2 separate regions of the Homo sapiens genome follow, and region 1 is linked to region 2. Evidence: promoter capture Hi-C in human tissues and cell types (Jung and others, 2019). All regions are on one chromosome and are shown on one strand. The core of a region is centred on a gene start or on the middle of the fragment in contact, and the rest is flanking DNA. Distances in the headings are between cores, read along the strand shown.

The links. Contacts are between HindIII fragments. The study calls those that stand out against the background at their distance.
Region 1: a fragment that was not itself captured here is called in contact with the fragment with the promoter of MRI1 in region 2 in 1 of the 25 tissues and cell types used here (mesendoderm cells).

Annotation. Positions count from the first base shown.
Region 1 is chr19:13,909,925-13,912,641 of GRCh38, reverse strand. It overlaps CC2D1A (coiled-coil and C2 domain containing 1A), which reads right to left. Exons shown (of 29, transcript NM_017721.5): 2 at 2,684-2,717; 3 at 204-319; 4 at 49-114. Among named protein-coding and RNA genes, the nearest start is that of CC2D1A, 5.1 kb to the right of the region's middle. The HindIII fragment of the contact is 5,078 bases long and covers 1-2,717 here.
Region 2 is chr19:13,762,813-13,765,860 of GRCh38, reverse strand. MRI1 (methylthioribose-1-phosphate isomerase 1) reads right to left here and starts at 1,339. Exons shown (of 6, transcript NM_001031727.4): 1 at 1,141-1,339; 2 at 752-990. The coding sequence starts at 1,272. It overlaps YJU2B (YJU2 splicing factor homolog B), which reads right to left. Exons shown (of 10, transcript NM_030818.4): 10 at 2,572-3,048. The coding sequence ends at 2,793. RefSeq lists enhancers at 1-142, 2,612-3,048 and a silencer at 920-969. The HindIII fragment of the contact is 13,832 bases long and covers 1-3,048 here.

The sequences.
Region 1 (2,717 bases), core at 7-2,506, 150 kb before region 2:
CTGTCCGTTGGGTTGTGGTTCAAGGGAGTGGAGTCATCCAAACTGTACCTGGGCCACAGGAGGTGGGGTCTCTGAAGCCTTCTGCTCCTCTCCAAGGACCTCATTTAGCTCCGCCTGCAGGGACACACAGCCAGGGCAGGATATAAGGGCCTGCTGGATGGGGGCAACCGGATCAGAGCCCCCACCCCGCCCTCAGTGCTCACCAGCAGGTCATCATCAGCCTCCAAGTCGTCCTCATCCGTCCCCTCCTCCTCATCCTCATCCGGGTCTCTCATGCACAGGCTGGCCATCTTCTCAATGGCCTCCATCGGCAAGGGACCTGGCGGTAGGGGGATGCCCCAGGTGGACCAGGGTCGTACACCAAGAGCCCCCATTTCCCATCCTGGACACGCTAGGTGATCCCACTTCTCGCTGACTTCCCCATTTCATCTCTTCCTTATTCAGCCTCAGGTCTGGGGCCTGGCTACCTGAATTCAAAACCCAGCTCTGCAGACCGGGCACAGTGACTCACGCCTATAATCCCAGCACTTTGGGAGGCCGAGGCAGAAGGATCACTTGAAGTCAGGCGTTCAAGACCAGCCTGGCCAACATGGTGAAACCCTGTCTCTACTAAAAATACAAAAATTAGGCTGGGCGCAGTGGCTCACGCCTGTAACCCCAGCACTTTGGGAGGCCGAGGCGGGTGGATCACAAGGTCAGGAGATCGAGACCATCCTGGCTAACACGGTGAAACCCCGTCTCTACTACAAATACAAAAAATTAGCCAGGCATGCTGGCGGGCGCCTGTGGTCCCAGCTACTCGGGAGCCTGAGGCAGGGGAATGGCGTGAACCTAGGAGGCGGAGCTTGCGGTGAGCCAAGATCGCGCCACTGTACTCCAGCCTGGGCGACAGAGCGAGACTCCGTCTCAAAAAAAAAAAAAAAAAAAAAAAAAAATTAGCTGGGCATGGTGGCGTGTAATCCCCGCTGCTAAAGAGGCTGAGGCAGGAGAATCACTTAAGCCCAGGAGGCAGAGGTCGCAGTGAGCTGAGATTGCGCCACTGCACTGCAGCCTGGGCAACAGAGCAAGGGTTTGTCTCCAAAAAAAAAAAAAAAAACACACACACACAACAACAACAAAAAAAACCCCAGCTCTGCAACTTTCTCTCTGTGAGAACTTCGGCAAGTGATGTCACCTCTCTGAGCCTCAGTTTCTCCCTCTGTGACACGGGGATGACAACAGTTCCTCCTTCATAGGTAGGTTGGAGCAGAGAAGGTCAATGAAGCTCTTAGAATAGCATATTGCCAATATCTTGTTATTAGTTATGTTACATTCTATAAAGCTGCTTTGAAGACTAAATTAATGACTATAAGACTGTTGCTCCTAGGGGAAATTTAAGCTTAGGTTCCTGTGAATCTCCAGTCATAACCTTTTTTGGAGACAGGATCTTGCTCTGTCACCCAGGCTGGAGTGCAGTGGCCCAATCAGAGCTCACTGCAGCCTCAAACTCTTGGCCTCAAGTGATCTTCCTGCCTCAGCCTCCCGAGTAGCTGGGATTACAGGCATGCACCACCACACCCAGCTCTGGTCACAAAATTTTAATCAACTGATCAATACACAACCTTGCTCTATGTGTGTTTCTGTTTGAAGACACCTTCCTGAATAGATATCGTTCATTCATTAACTTTGAATTCACAGCCAACAGCACAGTAGTTCATGCCTGAATGAAGCTTCTCTCTTTTTTGTTTTTTGGAAACAGGATCTTGCTCTGTCACCCAGGCTGGAGTGCAGTGGCGCAATCTCTGCCCACTGCAACTGCTGCCTCCTGGATTCAAGCGATTCTCATGCCTCAGCCTCCCAAGTAGCTGGGATTACAGGTGTTCGCCACCAAGCTTGGCTAATTTTTGTATTTTTAGTAAAGACAGGGTTTCACCATGTTGGCCAGGCTGGTCTCGAACTCCTGGCCCCAAGTGATCTGTCCACCTTGGCCTCCCAGAGTGCTGGGATTACATGCATGAGCCAATGTGCCTGGCTGACATGAGCTTATTGTGTGTGAGGGGGCCCTGGGTGAAATACTTATGGACTCCAGATTAACTCCTATAACATGGTTATTATTCCAGTTTTACAGATGGTGAAACTGAGGCCAAAGCACATGATGTGACTCATCAAGTCACATAACCAGTAAGTGGCAGAGCTCGGATTCCAACTCTCAGTCTCGGTCCAGACTTGATCTTTTTTTTTTTTTTTTTTTTTTTGAGACGGAGTCTTGCTCTGTCGCCCAGGCTGTAGCGCAGTGGTGCGATCTCGGCTCACTGCAAGCTCCGCCTCCCTGGTTCACGCCATTCTTCTGCCTCAGCCTCCTGAGTAGCTGGGACTACAGGCGCCCGCCACCACGCCCGGCTAATTTTTTTTTTTTTTTTGTATTTTTAGTAGAGACAGAGTTTCACCGTGTTAGCCGGGATGGTCTCAATCTCCTGACCTCATGATCTGCCTGCCTCGGCCTCCCAAAGTGCTGGGATTACAGGCGTGAGCCACCGTGCCCGGCCTCAGAGTCGATCTTGACTCTCTTACCCAGATCATTGGCTCCAGGAGAACAGGGGTCTTCTCTGTCTTCTTTCCCCTACCTACCCAGTGCCCCCAGTTCTGCGCCCGAACCACTTGCAGGAGATCAGAAAATGTTCTGAGGGTGTGTTAACCATCTCACCTTTGCCTTTGAGCTTCTCCAGGGCTGGGGGCTG
Region 2 (3,048 bases), core at 90-2,589:
CCTGCTCAAAGCCTCTCATTGCTGTGGGGCCTGGACCCTTCGGCCAGGGCCACCGAAGTGTCACTCCGTTCATTCATGCAAAGACATGTTTACCAAGCAGTTCCGGTATGACCCAGCAGTAAACAAGACAAAAATCTCTGCTCCTGTGGAGTTGACACTGGGGTGAGTGAGCCAGCTGATGAAGAGATAATAAAATGAAGGAAAAGCCGGCAGAATCAGGCAACAGAGAGCAGCGGGTGAGCTGGATCATATAGAATGGTGGAGGAGGGCGCTATGGATACCTGGCCCGCACCAATGGCACGTGCAAAGGCTGTAAGGCAGGCTCGAGCTTGGTGGGGTAAAGTGACATTGCAGGGAGGGCTGGAGCAGAAAGGAAGTGGGGGGAAAAAGATGGCAGGAAGGGGACCAGGACAGGAAAAAAAGTTCCTCAAAAGCAGAAACCAAGAGAACACGGAGATACTAAAAAGGGCCTCCAAGGGCGGATAAGGGGCTGCGTGTATTCAGGGGAGGCACGATTAAGGAGTTAGGTTTCAGGGCCAGGCTGCCCAGGCTAGACTCTGGGCCCCATCTGTGGGGCCCTGGACAAGGGACTTAAGGTCGCCGTGCCTCAGTCTCCCCATCTGTGGGGCCCTGGACAAGGGACTTAAGGTCGCCGTGCCTCAGTTTCCCCATCTGTATAGTGGGTCACTGTACTTAAAAAGAGTCAATATAATTCCTGCTCAGCGCCGTGCCTGGTACCAGATCCCCGTACCTCTCCCGGACCGCCTCTTCCGTAGCGCCCTCCCGTTCGGCCTCCCGGGCTGCAACATCAGCCAGGTCGCGGGCGGCGCGGGCCATGTTGACAGCGGTGGGCCGGGCGGTGACGAGGAAGCTCAGCTTGTCGCGCACGAAGGCCACGAGCGCGGCGAGTCCCGGTCCCCCGGCGCCCGCCTGCAGCTCCACGGCGAGGCTGAGACAGCCCACCAGGGCTATGGCCGGGGCGCCCCGCACCTGCGGGGCAGGGATTTGGGCGTCGGAAGCTGCAGGCGCGGGCGCACTCCCACCTCCAACCCGGCCGCCCCGCCGCCCCGCCGCCCCGCCGCCCCGCCGCCCCGCCGCCCCGCCGCCCCGCCGCCCCGCCGCCCCGCCGCCCCGCTGCACCTTCATGGCGCGGATGGCCTCCCAGGCCTGGTGCACCGAGCCCACCGCCTCGTAGCGGCTCTGCTTGGGCAGCAGCAGCTGGTCTAGGATCTGCAGGGAGCCCCGCGAGTAGCGGATCGCCTCCAGGGTCATGGTGCAGCAGCCAAGCCCAGCGCAACTCAGAGGGAGCTAGGGGTCCGCGCGCACTTGGGAGCGGGGCGGGGCCGTGGGCGGAGCCTCCCCCGGAAAAAGAGACACGCACATGCGCATCCAACCCGATTCCACGGGTTCCCAGGAGGCGGATTCCACGGGTTCCCAGGAGGCGGATTCCACGGGTTCCCAGGAGGCGGATTCCACGGGTTCCCAGGAGGCGGATTCCACGGGTTCCCAGGAGGCGGATTCCACGGGTTCCCAGGACGCGGATTCCACGGGTTCCCAGGACGCGGATTCCACGTGGCCGAACCCACTCCACGACTCCTGCCAAGCCCGAACGGAGTGAGCCGCCTCCTCGGAACCACAAAAGTGGCAGCATTTATGGGACGCCTAGTGGATACCAGGCCCCGTGTTTAACAACCTGCTGTCTAGAGTTAGGGATGTATCCCCAGTGGCAAGGTAACATCAAGTGTTCAAACCAAAGAATTTGTTAAATGATCTTCCAAGGTTGAGGGGGAGGTAGTGGGGGGTCGTGTGCCCCTTGATGGATGCAAGGCTGTTTCTGGGCCATTTTCTGCTCGGTTTCATTCAAAAGTAACATGCAGGACAGGCGCTGTGGCTCACGCCTGGAATCCCAGCATTTTGGGAGGCCGAGTCGGGCAGATCACTTGAGGTCAGGAGTTCGAGACCAGCCTGGCCAACATGGTGAAACCCAGTCTCTACTAAAAATACAAAAAATTAGCTGGGCGTGGTGGCGCACACCCGTAGTCCCAGCTGCTCGGGAGGCTGAGGCAGAAGAATCACTTGAACCCAGGAGGCAGAGGTTGCAGTGAGCCGAGATCGCGCCACTGCACTCCAGCCTGGGTGACAGAGCAAGACTCGGTCTCAAAAACAAAACAAAAAAACCCCAAAAGTAACATGCACGGGGGGCTTTTCCATGGGCCACCCCTGGGCTGGGTATAATAAAAAGCTCACACCTGTGTGCTCCAGCCCCTGCTGCATCTGGCACACATCCTGGGTACCCCGTGTGCCTTGTCCCTGGCCTTGTGTGTGTGGTTCCTGGCCCCCTTTTCACCCTTCACACTTGGCCCATGCCTCCTCCTCCAGGAAGTCTGTCCTGATTCCTGGCCAACCGGGACCACCACCTTGAGACTCTTGTTACTCTGGAAGGGGACCATGTCTGTGGTCACAGCTATGACCCTATACCAGCATTTGCTGATGAGAGGCCTACCAAGCTTGGTCAAGGTGGGGGGGTGGGGGGGCAGCCCCAGGGTCCATCTAACAACCCAAGACAGGGAAGAAGAGACAGGTCTTTAATGTACGGAGTCTCACAAGGCACAAACACCCTCACCAGGACCAAATAAATAACTCCACGGTTGCAGGAAGGCGCGGTCTGGGGAGGATGCGGCATCTGAGCTCTCCCAGGGCTGGTGGGCGAGCCGGGGGTCTGCAGTCTGTGAGGGGCCTCCTGGGTGTGTCCGGGCCTCTAGAGCGGGTCCAGTCTCCAGGATGGGGATCGCTCACTCACTCTCCGAGTCGGAGTAGTCCGCCACGAGGGAGGAGCCGAGACTGCAGGGGTGCCGCGTGTCGGGGGTGTCAGCTGCCTCCTGGGAGGAGCCTGCTGGCGACAGGGGCTTGTCCTGACGGCTCCCTTCCTGCCCCCTCGGGCTGCTGCACTTGGGGGTCTCAGTTGTTTCCGGAGGACAGTCTCCGGGGGACATGGGCCGGTCCTGGGCAGCCTCCTCTGGTACCCGCGGTTCCCCAGACTTGGGGGTG